Linked DNA regions of Homo sapiens: regions 1, 2, 4 and 5 are each linked to region 3. The links are contacts of gene promoters, found by promoter capture Hi-C in blood cells and fetal thymus (Javierre and others, 2016). All regions are on one chromosome and are shown on one strand. Each heading gives the region's core, a stretch centred on a gene start or on the middle of the fragment in contact. The rest is flanking DNA. Distances are from core to core; before and after follow the strand shown. Region 1 holds the start of REC8 (REC8 meiotic recombination protein). Region 2 holds the start of PSME2 (proteasome activator subunit 2). Region 3 holds the start of RBM23 (RNA binding motif protein 23). Region 4 holds the start of IPO4 (importin 4). Region 5 holds the start of DCAF11 (DDB1 and CUL4 associated factor 11).

Region 1 (2,700 bases), core at 59-2,558, 1.3 Mb before region 3:
AAGTCTGGGATCCACAGACATCATCCCAAAAAAGGGATCTGGAGCATCTTCTAGGGTCTCCATCATGGCCAGGTGGTTAGGAAGCAGCAGGCTGGGTCTGGGAGAGAATGTAGGCCGTGAAGGACTGAGGCTGAGCCAGGCTGAGGCCAAGCTAGCAGGTGTTCCATCAAAGGCCCAGGGCACACTCACAGCTCAGTCTCCATATCTATTCGGATCTGCAGCTGGGCACGGTGGAGGCGCTCCAAGATGTGCTGGATGTCCTCTGTGGGCAGGGAGGACGAGGTAGACAGCCAGCTTAGCAGACAGCTGCTCAGCCCGCCCCACCTTTGAGGGTTCCCAGCCTTACCCACGAGGTACTGGCATTGTTGAGAATAGACGCGGATCACACCGATCTGAAGTTGGGCTGAGAGATAGAGGGAGAAGCGGGGCCGCGGCAGGCCGGGCTGCGGGGGTTGCACTCGTACCAGCACGTAATTGAGGATTTCCTCGCTGGGGAACAATGCGCCCTGATTACCGCTGCGTCCAGGAGTGGGCCCACAGTCTTGGCCACCCCATCCCCTAACTCACCCCCCGCACCAGGCCCTCCTTCCCTTTTCTGGGCCTTACCAGGTTTTCACCACATTCACCCTCAGGTATTCGCGCTTCACCAACCGGCTGCCGCGAGTCGCCGCCAGCCTGAAGTGGGTGGGGAAGGTGGGAGAATGGGGATGGAGGGGGAGCTGTCAGGCTGGGATCCCGGGCAGCGTCCGCCATCGCGCGCCAACGGGCCCCGCCCTTACCAGATGGTGGCAAAGCAGCCGGTGTGGCGCTGAAGCACGTTGGGATAGTAGAACATTGTCCCTCTGGTCTTTCACCCTCGATTCCACCAGATCCCCGTTCGGATCTGAGTCGGAATTCTTTAGGGCACAGAATTCCCAACACCTTGGAGAGAAGTCAGGATTTGGACTTCTCTGGTGGCAAGGTGGGTGCACCTAGAAAGCCAAGTTAATGAGGCAACGAACAATGGGCAGATACACAATTACCAGGATAACTGAGACGCAGGAGATGGGCGCCCCTCTCTGTGGACCCTCAGTGGATCCGCACGCCACGTGATGCGTCAAACTTGAGACTTCTGGGTTGGGTTCCAGGTTGGAGATGCAGAGCTCCAAGGGGACGTCCGGGCCGGAATCCAGAGCAGGTCCCGAGGGAGCACGGTGTCCTCCACAGCAGGCCTCGGTCCTCGAGCGCTGGGAGCGATGTCAGGCCCCTGGGCCTTGCACTGGCTTGGGCGGCCGCGGTGTGGCCCCGGGCCGCCTACTGCAGGACTAGATCGCACCGCGGGAAGCGAGCGCTTCGGGGCACCGCACCTCGCTCCTCATTAGATGGCGGCTTTTGCCCTGACAGCCAATGGGGAACGGGGGTCGGGTCGGGAACGCCAAGTATCCTGGCAACAGGGTCTCCCGAGGCAGCCAGCAAACCAATCATAAGGATTTTGCGCGCCGCTGGGGTCCATTGTGAGGTGTTCCGACCAATGGGCTCCGGTTCTCGCCTCTAGTAACAGGCGCCCCTTCCTTGACCAATGAGCGCATCCCCGTCGCTCCCCCGCCGCTCCCCCGCCGCAAGCCTGGCAACAAGGGCGCCTCAATTGGTAGGGGAGGTCGGGTCACCTCGGGGGCAACTGTACTGGGCCTCTTCCGGGTGCCAAGATGTACCTTGCACGGCGCCTGACCTGAGGTTAGACCCCGCCCTTCCCCCAATCCACAAACTCCGACTTTGTTTCCAACTAGGGCGTGTCGTGTGCTGCAGAGGAAGAAAGATGTGAGATGAGGCCGGGCGCAGTGGCTCACGCCTGTAATCCTAGCACTTTGGGAGGCCGAGGCGGGCGGATCATGAGGTTAGGAGTTCGAGTCCAGCCTGACCAATATGGTGAAACCCCGTCTCTATTAAAAATGCAAAAGTTAGCTGGGCGTGGTGGCACGCGCCTGTAATCCCAGCTACTCAGGAGGCTGAGGCAGGAGAATGCTTGAACCTGGGAGGCGGAGGTTGCAGTGAGCCGAGATCATGCAGCTCCACTCCAACCTGGGCAAGGGAGCAAGACTCCGTCTCAAAAAAAAAAAAAAAAAAAAAGGCTGTGAGATGATGGCCTTGGAGCCACCACAGGTCAATGAGGAAGAAGTCCATTTTTTTTTTTTTTGATGGCCTTGGAGCCACCACAGGTCAATGAGGAAGAAGTCCATTTTTTTTTTTTTTTTTTGAGATGGAGGCTCTCACTGTTGCCCAGGCTGGAATGCAGTGGCGCTATCTCGGCAATCTCGGCTCACTGCATCCTCTGCCCCCCATCCCCTCAGGTTCAAGCGATTCTCGTGTCTTGGCCTCCTGAGTAGCTGGGATTACAGGCGCCCTCCATCACACCCAACTAATTTTTGCATTTTTAGAAGAGACGGGATTTCACTATGTTGGCCAGGCTGGTTTCTTTTTTTTTTGAGATGGAGTTTCACTCTGTCACCCAGGCTGGAGTGCAGTGGCGCAGTCTCAGCTCATTGCAGCCTCCGCCTCCCCGGTGCAGGGGATTCTCCTGCCTCAGGCTCCCGAGTAGCTGGGATTACAGGCGCCCACCACCACACCTGGCTAAATTTTGTATTTTTTAGTAGAGACAGGGGTTTCACCATGTTGGCCAGGCTGGTCTCGAACTCCTGACCTCAGGTGATCCGCCCGCCTTGG
Region 2 (2,700 bases), core at 1-2,500, 1.2 Mb before region 3:
GCGGCGTCCAGCTGCAGGTAGCGGGCGGCTAGCGGCAGAGAGCTGGCTAGTAGCGGCCGGAGCTGCTCCAGGGAAAACGCCTGCCCGGAATCCCTCCTCAGGGCGCTCGCCAGCTCCTCGCGGGCCACCAGGAAGGCCCGCTCCTCTTCCTCCCCCGGCATCCTGAGGCAGGAGTCAGCCCCAGCCTCGCCGCCCGCCAGGACCCGGCGCGGGCAGCGCGCGGCCCGAGCGCCGCCCCTCCCGTCTGGTGCCCGGCTTTGAGGCCCACCCCGGCCCACGCAGCCGCCCCAGGTCACTCAGACCACGGTCACTCTCCAGCCCCCGGCCCAGCGCCAGGGTTAGCCGAGAACAGGAAGTACTAGGAGAGAGGGTGGGACTGCGACCCAATTTCGGAGGAACGGGCGGGGCTTAAGGTTAAGGTTGGAGCGGTGTCAGGAAACCAGGGGGCGCGGCCAAGAGGGAGGGCCAGGTCCCAACCAATGAGAAGGCAAATGGCTCCTGGCTCCTCCCTCAGAGCGCGCCAGCATCTTCCCTCAGTCAAGCGCTCTTCCCCGCCTTCCCCCAATCTGGTTCCACCCCTTCCGGATAGCCGCAGGCGCGGGGTTATCCTATTCAGCTCAAAACCTTTCTTTTTCTAGCTGGACCAGTCCGGTACGCTCCGGGCCTCACCGAGGAAGTCCCACCCTGCAGGGGAACCGACTCTGGCCGGCCCTAACCCCTCTCGAGCGAGTCCCGCCCCATCTCCGGTCTGTCCTGAAGGCAGAGGGAAGACCCTCACCCAACCCCTGCCCGCTCTCTTCTAAGAGCTGCTAGTCCTTCTCCACCCCAGGCGCTCCCTCTGGCTGCCCCTCCCACTCGCTCTGATCTCTCTCCGTCCGCTACTTGCGGTCGAGCCTTCTTGGGGGAGCCCCGCCACTGAATACCCCCTTTGCCATACTCCCACCTCTCTTACCCCAACCCTGGACTTCCAGTTGGCCCTAGCTATAAGCCCCGCCCCTCTCCGAGGGACAGCCCCCGCTCCAGTCTCCGCGGTCCCACTTACCCTAGCCCCTCCCTCGGGCAGCCCCTGGACTGTGACCCAGCCAGCACCGCCTCTCCTAGTGGCAACTGGCTGGGAATGGCTGAGGGGCTACCTACTGCTTGCGGCCTGCCAGCGGGAGGAGGGGGGCGGAAAGAAGAAAGGGGGCGGGGTTGAGGGGGGCGGGCCTGGACCTGGGGAGTGAAAGCGAAAGCCCGGGCGACTAGCCGGGAGACCAGAGATCTAGCGACTGAAGCAGCATGGCCAAGCCGTGTGGGGTGCGCCTGAGCGGGGAAGCCCGCAAACAGGTAATGGGGAATCGGAGGCCAGGAAGGGGTCATAGAACCCTCTTGGGTGGAGGCCAAGCTGGGTGGTTCAGGGGACCAAGCAGTGCCAGAGAACTCCCCCAATCTCGCTAGTGCCTTCACTTCTCGGGGATTCCCAGATTCCTGCCTTCTGACTGCAGTGAGCAGGAGCTTCCAGGGAAAGCTAGTTTGTGGTGAGAAAGGCCTGAGCCACAGTTCGAGGGCACCCTGTTGTGGGTGGAAGCTTTTGACAACCCAGACCCTTAACCAACATCCGGGTACTGCTCTCTGTGTAGGTGGAGGTCTTCAGACAGAATCTTTTCCAGGAGGTAAGTCTCTGGATTTGAGCGATTTGACCCAGAATCTTGGACCAATACTTGAGGATAACAGCCTCTCAGAATGACCCCCCCAAGTCACCCTAGACTTAACCCTACTTCCCTTACCAAGCCTTCACCCAAAGTAACCCCGGAATTATTGATAGCTACCTTTAATCTGACCTTTCTTATGACTCTCCCGACTTCTGGCACTTCTCCCGTCTTTTGATGTGGAGGAAAAAAACCATGGCTTCCAAAGCAGGAATATCACAGTCCTAACCTTCGTTCTGCCATTTACCAGCTTGGGCAAGTCCTTTCATTTTCAGGTCTTCAGTTTCCTCATTTGCAAGTCTTGGACCCAGTGATTTCCAAAGGCCCTTCCAGTTCCATTTGTCAGACATCTCATTGAGCATATTCTGTGATTCCCCTCCCTTGCAATGTAACCCACAGGCTGAGGAATTCCTCTACAGATTCTTGCCACAGAAAATCATATACCTGAATCAGCTCTTGCAAGTGAGTAGTGTGGGCCCCTTCTGCCCCATCCTATGTCCTCTATCCCCTTTGCCCACCCTCTCTAGCTAACAACTGGATTCAGCATGCAGAGAATAGTTTCAAATAGTGGATTAGGAACATTAGGATGGCGTGAGGCATGAGCCTAGGTTGGGAGGCAGAGTGCAAGTGGGATGTATGGAGGGAAGGCTGTGACCTAGGATGAAGGGAAGAGGTTGGGCAGCCCTTGACAGTGAGCTCTGTGCAGGAGGACTCCCTCAATGTGGCTGACTTGACTTCCCTCCGGGCCCCACTGGACATCCCCATCCCAGACCCTCCACCCAAGGATGATGAGGTGAGGCACTCAGGGTGCAGGACTTGGACTATAAACCCAATGGAGAAGATAGCCCTTCAACCTCTGTGACTTTTCTAAAGCTACTTTCCCCCCTTTTTGCCTTAGATGGAAACAGATAAGCAGGAGAAGAAAGAAGGTAAGAGAGATAAGAGGTGACTAGGGAAGGGGTGATGGCACACTGACTACTGGATGAGAAAGGGCCTGAATCCCCTCTTTCTC
Region 3 (2,700 bases), core at 193-2,692:
GTTCTTGTTTTGATGGTTTTGTGTAAGAGGAAATACAAATAAAGTTATAGCCCTTTACTGCACGACCATGCTGCCCCCTGCCACTATTTTCCCACACCTCACTTAGACCCAGGCATGTTCAGATCTGTCCTCTTAGCCTATCCAAGACCCAAAGGGGCCTAGTTGTATTCCCTACTTAGGAAGCTGAGCAATGACTATTGTAGTCCTGGATATAGGCCTTTCTGACCAGCTACAGTGAGCTCTTGTCCATTAGAACCTACAGTTAGGCTTTTCTCTGGGGAGGAGGCATAGAGTTTGCCACCTTGGAAAAAGATGGAATAGTGAGTGAAGCCAGTTTCTCTTCTGTATTCTTGAGCTACTGCACGGGCAACTGGTTACCTCTCCTTTGTTACCTCTTGGGAAGACTGGAATCCATCCAGGAATCTCCAGCAAGAAGCTACCTGTTTTTTTTGAATAAAACCACAGGGTTACAGTTTGAAGTCCTAAGAGATCATCTAGTCCAATTTTCCATTTTACAGAGGGGGAGTTTGAAATGGGTACAATGATGTGATATTAGTATCCAAGTCAGAATTGGAAGTCAGGTCCTCCGACTCTGGCTCTCCCCATGTTATAACCAGCTACATTTTTGGTAGCTACAGTAGACCACAGAAGTGTCTAGGGGCTCCTGGAGGCCCCTGGAAAGTGAGGGTGGACATCAGTTCCTTCTTTCCGGTTAGAGGACTCAGTACTGCTACATCCAAGGAGTCACCTGAGAAACTTTCAAATTTACCCTTGCAGTGGGAAATGTGGGGGTACTGATTTGAACGGAAGTTATGACCTGTGGGAGCAGGCCATGACGATAGGGCAGAGTGTGGGCCAAGACAAGTCTGTGGCAAGATCTGCTTTTCCCTGGTCCCAAGCACCGAGGTCAGGAGAGGTGGTCGGGAAGGTTGTTTAGGTAGCCGGCTCAGAACGGGGATTTCGAGTTCAGCATCCCCGGACGTTAAACAAACGCCGCTGTTCTCTACAAAGCTTAACCTTAACGACCGACGTGACTCCTTCAGCAAATCCGAGTAGGGACGGCCAAGGATGTAAATTGTGCCTCCTCGTTGGCTCCGCCCATCGCACTGGTCTAGTCTACGCGAGCACCAGGAGTGGGGTTGGTGGCTTCTTCACTCCCGTTTTCAGTCCCGTTTTCCCCGCCCTCCGCAAGTCATTTAACCAATGAGAGAGTGATGGGCGGCTACCAAAGGACGCTTCCATTTTCTGGAGTCTCTGAGGTTAGCCAATCAATGGGAACTCGGTGGTTGCTAAGACGCATTTGAGTTTGCTCCACCCATACTTAGGACTTTAGCCAATGAGAACCTGTACTTTGGACGGTTGCCGCGAAACCAGTGAGGTTATTTCCAAAGCCGGGGAGTCTTGGCGCATGCGCAGATTGGGGAAGGTTCTGGAAGACGGCAGAGCTGCCGCCATTTTGCGGGAAGAGGAGGCTCTGTACCTGCAGTGCTGCTTTTCTTGCCTAGACTCTAGGAACTATCCGAGCTCCACTCCCCACAACATACTCAAAGGAACGGAGAGAACCGGGACCCCCCTGCGGGGACCCGGAACTGGTGAGAAACCCCAAAACCCGGTCCCCACCAGACGTCACCAATGCGTGACGTTGCTGCACGGCGCCTCCCCCCTGACGTCACGGGCAGAAAATGGCGTCACGAAGAGATTCAGGCGAACTTTTAACATTAAAAAAACCTTTGTTTGTTTTGACCTGGAAGTGTTAGCTACTTAAATGTAGCCCACTGCCACGATTTTAGAGTTGGGCACCCTCGTGGCTGTATCTTGCACCGATAAAGATGCGGTTTCTAGAATCCTGTGATTTTTCTTTCCGGGTCTCTGCAGCCGTGACACTTAGGGTCGCCCACACTGGAGAGGGAGCATCGACCCTCCGCGGCCTGAGAGGACACGCATCATCAGTTTCAGCCACTCGCACCACCATTCAGAGAGAGAGAAGGGAATTGAGCTTTCTTCCTCAATCTCTAGTCTGTCGAAGATTCATGTTCACTATGTTGACCTTTATGGGCTTTTCCCATTTAACTTTTTCAAGCACTCATTCCAGTAGGCGTATTATGATGCCACATATGAAGATTGAGCCCTGGGACACTGGCTCCCGCAGAGATTGTGCCAGTTGGTTGCCTATAGGACCTCTTTTTTTTTATTTTTTTAAGGCGGAGTGTCGCTTTGTCACCCAGGCTGGAGTGGAGTGGCGCGATCTCGGCTCACTGCATCCTGTCTCCCGGGTTCTAGCGATTCCCCTGCCTCAGCCTCCCGAGTAGCTGGGATTACAGGCGCCTGCCACAACGCCCGGCTAATTTTTGTATTTTTAATAGAGATGGGGTTTTGCCATGTTAGCCAGGCTGACCTCGAACTCCTGACCTCAGGTGATCCACCCGCCTCGGCCTCCCAAAGTGCTGGGATTACAGGCGTGAGCCACCGCGCCCGGCCTATAGGACCATTTTTTAAAGCTACACAACATGGGGAGGGTGGTCCTTCAAGTAGCTTTTATCGTTCTCATTGTTCCTCTTTTGTTAAGCTGCCTTCAGTTTGTAGGTGTTTGTGCCCAGCTAAGTGATCAGACCCTGGGGATGGCGCTACCATCACCCCTGGGGCTCCAGCTTTTCGTGAATTCTTCCCGAATTGGTCTGACAGTGGTTCTCTCTGCTCCTT
Region 4 (2,700 bases), core at 94-2,593, 1.3 Mb before region 3:
TCCTGGTTTCTGACTTTAATGCCTATGGACATCATGTGGGGTTTAAAGCCCATTTGATGACCCATTTACTTTGTTGAATACCTCTTTGTGCCAGGCAAAGAATAAAGTGGAATAAAATGGACAAGATCCCTGCCCTCAATCTATTAGGGAAGATATTCTTGAAGTGAGAGCGGCTAATCATAGGCAAAAAATCCCCATGAAGCCAGGAGATCTGGGGCAGAGAGTGGAGTGAACTCACTTTTCACAATGACCCAGCAACATGGGAGAGGGTGGGGGCTGGATTTCAGCCCAGCCACTGTGCTGATGGTGCACAGCCCTTTAATGCTGTGTATCATCTCTTTTCTTCACAGTGCCATCTCTGTGGAGCTGTACTACATCTTTGCCACAGTATGGGGTCGGGAGCAGTACACTTTGTACGGCATCCTCTTCTTTGTCTTCGCCATCCTGCTGAGTGTGGGGGCTTGCATCTCCATTGCACTCACCTACTTCCAGTTGTCTGGGGAGGATTACCGCTGGTGGTGGCGATCTGTGCTGAGTGTTGGCTCCACCGGCCTCTTCATCTTCCTCTACTCAGTTTTCTATTATGCCCGGCGCTCCAACATGTCTGGGGCAGTACAGACAGTAGAGTTCTTCGGCTACTCCTTACTCACTGGTTATGTCTTCTTCCTCATGCTGGGCACCATCTCCTTTTTTTCTTCCCTAAAGTTCATCCGGTATATCTATGTTAACCTCAAGATGGACTGAGTTCTGTATGGCAGAACTATTGCTGTTCTCTCCCTTTCTTCATGCCCTGTTGAACTCTCCTACCAGCTTCTCTTCTGATTGACTGAATTGTGTGATGGCATTGTTGCCTTCCCTTTTGCCCTTTGGGCATTCCTTCCCCAGAGAGGGCCTGGAAATTATAAATCTCTATCACATAAGGATTATATATTTGAACTTTTTAAGTTGCCTTTAGTTTTGGTCCTGATTTTTCTTTTTACAATTACCAAAATAAAATTTATTAAGAAAAAGGCTCATGCAGTTGGAGGTTTTGGTCTGGATATAGGAACTCGAGCCCTGCTGTTAAGGGCACGGTCCTTTATAAAGCCGAGCTGGCCACTGAATGCCCGAAGCTCGAGTTCTCCAACCCAGCTTGGGAACTCCCGGCGTGGGGAACCTACATTGCCAGAGTCGGGTTTCCGCGATTCAGCCGGTGCTCAGCCTAACGGAAGTGGAGGAGCCGGACCTCTTTGTGGGAAGCGAATTGAATCACCTTGGCAACCCGCGGGGCGTGCAGCAACGCCCTTTCCTCCGGAAGTGGGTGTCAGAACCTCCACGTGCTGTCCCTCCCCCTCCCCTTTTCGGCCCAGTAGCGGCGGCTCAGTTGCTGCCATGGAGTCAGCCGGGCTAGAGCAGCTCCTACGGGAGCTGCTGCTACCGGACACCGAGCGCATCCGTCGGGTACGGAGCAGGCGTAACCGGGCCAGGGCGAGCGGGAGGTTGCGGGAAAGGCCCAACTCTCACCCCTAGCTTCCCCCCAGGCCACGGAACAGCTCCAGATCGTTCTTCGGGCCCCCGCCGCTTTGCCGGCTCTCTGCGACCTGCTAGCCTCGGCGGCCGACCCCCAGGTGAGACCCCTGACTCTCCCCTCCGAGCTTCCCACTGTACGCCACCGGTCAAGCCCCAGTATTCGCCCACTGCGGTCCGCTCAGCACCTTCCTGCCCGGACCCCCACGTGCTTGCTTCCTCGTCCTAGATCCGCCAGTTTGCGGCCGTGCTGACCCGCAGACGACTGAACACCCGCTGGCGACGGCTGGCGGCGGAGCAACGGGAGAGGTGGGCTGGGCCTGGGGTGGGGCGGGGCCAGGCGGAGACTTTTCTTGGGCAGGCTGGGTACCAAACACCTGCCACCTGTGTTCCAGCCTCAAGTCCCTGATCCTGACGGCCCTGCAGAGAGAAACAGAGTAAGTACCTACCCACTTCTCTCGGGATCTTGACGACTTTGTCTAGGTTTCTGCCTTCCTTTTCGGCTCCAGGCTGGGACTTGTGGGGCAGGGACTTCAGTTCTAGACGCAAGGTGGAGTGAGGATTTTAAGGCTGTTTTGAAGACTAAAGTTCTTGAGGAAGGGTGATGATGATCTGCCAAACCCAAGTCAGAAGAATAAGACTGAAATTCAGGCTAAGTTAGACTGAACTTACCAGATTACATGCCCACAGTGCTGTTGGGCTCCCTCTGAGCTGCTGTCTCATGTGTCCCAACTTGGCAAAGACCCTGTGCCCACACCTCCTGAAAGTTTCTGTCCTGGCTGCCCCATTGAGCCTGGCCACTGTGTGCAGAGGAAGGTATTGAAGGGTGATTGGAGGAGATCTCTCCTGTTTGCAGGCACTGTGTGAGCCTCAGCCTGGCCCAGCTCTCAGCCACCATTTTTCGAAAGGAAGGCTTGGAGGCCTGGCCACAGCTTTTGCAGCTGCTTCAGCACAGTACCCACAGCCCCCACAGCCCAGAGAGAGAGGTACCATCACATGGTTGGCAGGAGGGAGGGCCTGAGAGGCTGGATAGACCTTGTAAGCTTGCTCTCCCATCCTCTATTCTTGGACAGATGGGGCTTTTGCTGCTAAGTGTGGTGGTGACCTCCCGGCCCGAGGCCTTCCAACCCCACCACCGGGAGCTTCTTCGGCTTCTGAATGAGACTCTTGGTGAGGTGGGCTCTCCTGGGCTGC
Region 5 (2,700 bases), core at 110-2,609, 1.2 Mb before region 3:
TCAACTGCCTTACTAAAAAGTTCAACACTCCCTTCCCATCTCTTCACCCCTTACATCACTCCTTTCCCACTAGGACCCCCCCCTTTTTTTTTTCAAGCTTACTTGGAAAATAGACTATATTTGTGTAGTCACAGAGACAGGCTCCCTTGAATAGCCCCTCAAACACATGAGCAGGTCCTCTTGGTGACCCTCCCTAGGTAAGAACCACTCTTACTGGGTATGGAGCTGAGTGCCATGGGTGCCCAGCAGGGAAAGGCTGTTCAGCTCAAACAGAACAGCTGTCCTGAGCGAATCCCATTTCCTAACCTCTGTAATTTTCCTGCCTGGAGTTGGGATCAAGGCACTGTGGTAGCACCTGCTGGGGGTCACACCAGAGGGTAAGTTACCTGCGGAGGAGATAGGCCAGTACCTGGGCCAGATCCACATCTTCATCCTCTTCTTCCTCTTCCTCACTCCGACGCAGGCCAGCCCCTCTTCGGGGCAAGCCCTCGGAGGGGTCTCCGGACCCGGATCCTGCACTGCTGCTGTTCCGCGATCCCATCTTCTGGTCACAGCATTCTTAGGTCCTGTGCGGGGGCTCCTCCTGTCACCTCCTTGGGTTTGGTGAAAGCAAAGCGTGCTCTAGAAATACCAGGGTCTCCTGAGACGGGGTAGTAGCTATCTCTAGGAGGGTGACCCTTCCTCGGGGCTGAGATCCCTTTTCTTTAGCCTATGCCAACTACCAAGGCGTCGGGAACACAAACCTTCTCCAATCCTGTGAAGCAAAGAAAGCAAGAGTGAACCGTAGTGCGCTACCCTAGCTCACCAACTGAAGAAAGATTTGTTTTCTACACCAAACTCACCTATCGAAGTCCCCGGACTGGGGAGCGGGAGGGGTGTTGGGCGGTGTTGGATTTCCAGGTAACCTCTCTGACCGACCAATCGAAATCCCTCTCGGAAGAAAGCGCTTCACTAGCTTATCTCATCTAACCAATTAGAAGCCTTAGGACTCAAAGACCCTCGACGCCCCCACCTTATCGACCAATCAGAGCGCCCCCTTACAAAGGCCGGCAGCAGTGACAGCCAATGAAAATAGAATTTGGCCTAACACCCCTCCTTCCTCGCCTCACGCCCACGTGGTGCGCCGGGGGTGTGTACGCCATGAGGGGGAGGAAGCCGAGAAGCACCTCCCACTGAAGCCGGCGGTAACCGCCCCACGCGAGACCACCCACCAGCCAGGAGCGGTCGCAGGACCCGCAGCGGCGCGAGGCCTTGTTTACACCGACTGCCGCCACTGCGTTGGCCAACCGCTCCTCCGTCACGCGCTTCGCTCGTCACGCATCTCGCGGCTTCCTGGCCGGCGGGCTGCAAACGTCACACGACGGCCCCGCCCCCTTGGCCAGCCAACTGGACAGCGGAGCACGATGATTGATAGGTAGGCGGGAGAATGCGCGAGGTGCCTGAGGGGAGGAGAAAGTGCACACCCAAGGAGGGCTGTTAGCTCTTGCTGGGGAGGAGTAAGTGGGAACTGCCAGCTTCCTGAATCAGAGACAGCCGAACTAGGCGTAACGGCTGAGAGGCGGGGCTTAAAAAAGAAACGTTTGGTGGTTCGCTACCGAGAGGTATTTTAGCAAGGGATATAATTTACTGTCTGTCCCTAAAGATCATTTGGCATCGCACTTTTCAGACAGTGCCCAAGGGCCTCCTTTCTCCCCACTGCTTCCCCTGTCCAGCTGGAGCCGTTCTTCTGTCGCTGGCCGCAGCTCCAGTCGGTTCTGCCCTAAGGGGTGCCCAGCGTCCCAGTAGACCTCCATACCGTCCTTCCGGGCTTAGCTTTTGGAAGCCTTGCTCTTGGGACGGTCCCCTTTTAGACCTCCCTTTATCCGGTCTGACAATTTTTTAAGACAATCCCTGGCTTTCCGCCGCGGTCTTTGCAGACGTTCCCTAATACACGCGTCTTTCTGTCAAAGCTTTTCCGGTTCCGCTGTCCCCTTTGACGCTCCCTTGGCCCTCCGGGATTTGCAGACCTTCGCTAGTCCCTCTGTCCTCGCGGTGCCTCTCCGCCCCCGGCCGCGGGTCCAGGGTGCGCGCTCGCCGCCTCCTGCCCCCTCCTGCCCCCTCCTGCGGGTTTATGAGTAACAAGCCTGAGTCCAAGGCCGGGAGTTGCCACATCTCTGATCCTCGCCCTGGCTGGGTGGGGACGTGTGGGTTGAATGACCTTGCTGTCTCGGGCTCAGAGGCTCAGGGTCCGAGCTGAACTTCATTCCCTGCAGCCTGCACTTCCTTGGGAAAGCTGCGAGCTTCCCTCCGCCCGCTCCTGAGGGCAGGGATGGGAGCGAGGGCTCGTGGCCTTCTTGGGCCCTCCTGGGGCCTCTCCCAGTGAGGGCGAGGGTTTGGCCAGCTTTCGGGCGACGTCTCCTAGTCTCTAGATCCGGAGACCTGAGCTTGTCACCAGGGCTAGCTTTGATGGCCTCTGCGCTTAGAAGGGTCCTGAATGTTTGGTTTAATGTTCTAGTGTTAACGGTCTTGAAATTATTAGTAATTTTAAAGCAAGTGCCTGGTATTTTCATCTTGCACTCGGCTCCACTGATTATGTAGGCGGTCTGCTGGGCGCCCATCCTCTATTGCCAGATTACTTACTATCTGTGCTTTAACGTTTATTGAGACTTTAGGATTCCGTGGTTTCTGGGTTATCCAGCCTGGAAAATCGGGATCTTTATT

Evidence for each region. Contacts are between HindIII fragments. The CHiCAGO score rates a contact against its expected background, and 5 or more counts as called.
Region 1: the fragment with the promoter of REC8 here is called in contact with the fragment with the promoter of RBM23 in region 3 in 2 of 17 cell types (monocytes and total B cells); the score reaches 11.7 in monocytes.
Region 2: a contact is called between the fragment with the promoter of PSME2 here and the fragment with the promoter of RBM23 in region 3, in 1 of 17 cell types (monocytes). The highest score is 6.8, in monocytes.
Region 4: the fragment with the promoter of IPO4 here is called in contact with the fragment with the promoter of RBM23 in region 3 in 8 of 17 cell types (non-activated CD4 T cells, monocytes, naive CD8 T cells and 5 more); the score reaches 13.5 in non-activated CD4 T cells.
Region 5: the fragment with the promoter of DCAF11 here is called in contact with the fragment with the promoter of RBM23 in region 3 in 7 of 17 cell types (monocytes, total B cells, non-activated CD4 T cells and 4 more); the score reaches 14.8 in monocytes.

Annotation. Positions count from the first base shown.
Region 1 is chr14:24,170,688-24,173,387 of GRCh38, reverse strand. It overlaps REC8 (REC8 meiotic recombination protein), which reads right to left and starts at 1,308. Exons shown (of 19, transcript NM_001048205.2): 1 at 780-1,308; 2 at 607-675; 3 at 347-489; 4 at 190-262; 5 at 1-97. The coding sequence starts at 835. RefSeq lists enhancers at 1,078-1,327, 1,396-1,896 and a silencer at 1,498-1,547. The HindIII fragment of the contact is 5,740 bases long and covers 1-2,700 here.
Region 2 is chr14:24,145,160-24,147,859 of GRCh38, reverse strand. It overlaps PSME2 (proteasome activator subunit 2), which reads left to right and starts at 1,250. Exons shown (of 11, transcript NM_002818.3): 1 at 1,250-1,326; 2 at 1,620-1,652; 3 at 2,088-2,150; 4 at 2,395-2,481; 5 at 2,587-2,617. The coding sequence starts at 1,279. RNF31 (ring finger protein 31) reads right to left here and starts at 362. Exons shown (of 21, transcript NM_017999.5): 1 at 1-362. The coding sequence starts at 161. RefSeq lists silencers at 95-324, 355-444, 1,145-1,204 and enhancers at 286-580, 127-627, 765-834. The HindIII fragment of the contact is 5,988 bases long and covers 1-1,569 here.
Region 3 is chr14:22,917,891-22,920,590 of GRCh38, reverse strand. It overlaps RBM23 (RNA binding motif protein 23), which reads left to right and starts at 1,442. Exons shown (of 14, transcript NM_001077351.2): 1 at 1,442-1,592. It overlaps PRMT5-AS1 (PRMT5 antisense RNA 1), which reads right to left and starts at 1,135. Exons shown (of 2, transcript NR_120600.1): 1 at 1-1,135. It overlaps PRMT5 (protein arginine methyltransferase 5), which reads left to right. Exons shown (of 17, transcript NM_006109.5): 17 at 1-62. RefSeq lists a silencer at 1,068-1,367 and enhancers at 1,628-1,697, 1,788-1,897, 1,968-2,137, 2,626-2,700. The HindIII fragment of the contact is 7,114 bases long and covers 1,014-2,700 here.
Region 4 is chr14:24,187,459-24,190,158 of GRCh38, reverse strand. IPO4 (importin 4) reads left to right here and starts at 1,343. Exons shown (of 30, transcript NM_024658.4): 1 at 1,343-1,440; 2 at 1,521-1,607; 3 at 1,736-1,815; 4 at 1,902-1,943; 5 at 2,363-2,492; 6 at 2,580-2,700. The coding sequence starts at 1,372. It overlaps TM9SF1 (transmembrane 9 superfamily member 1), which reads left to right. Exons shown (of 6, transcript NM_006405.7): 6 at 351-1,010. The coding sequence ends at 744. RefSeq lists silencers at 1,772-1,891, 2,137-2,347. The HindIII fragment of the contact is 6,803 bases long and covers 1-2,551 here.
Region 5 is chr14:24,113,436-24,116,135 of GRCh38, reverse strand. DCAF11 (DDB1 and CUL4 associated factor 11) reads right to left here and starts at 1,359. Exons shown (of 15, transcript NM_025230.5): 1 at 843-1,359; 2 at 387-754. The coding sequence starts at 541. NRL (neural retina leucine zipper) reads left to right here and starts at 1,187. Exons shown (of 3, transcript NM_001354768.3): 1 at 1,187-1,414. RefSeq lists enhancers at 1,280-1,429, 1,670-1,809, 1,391-2,106. The HindIII fragment of the contact is 1,852 bases long and covers 100-1,951 here.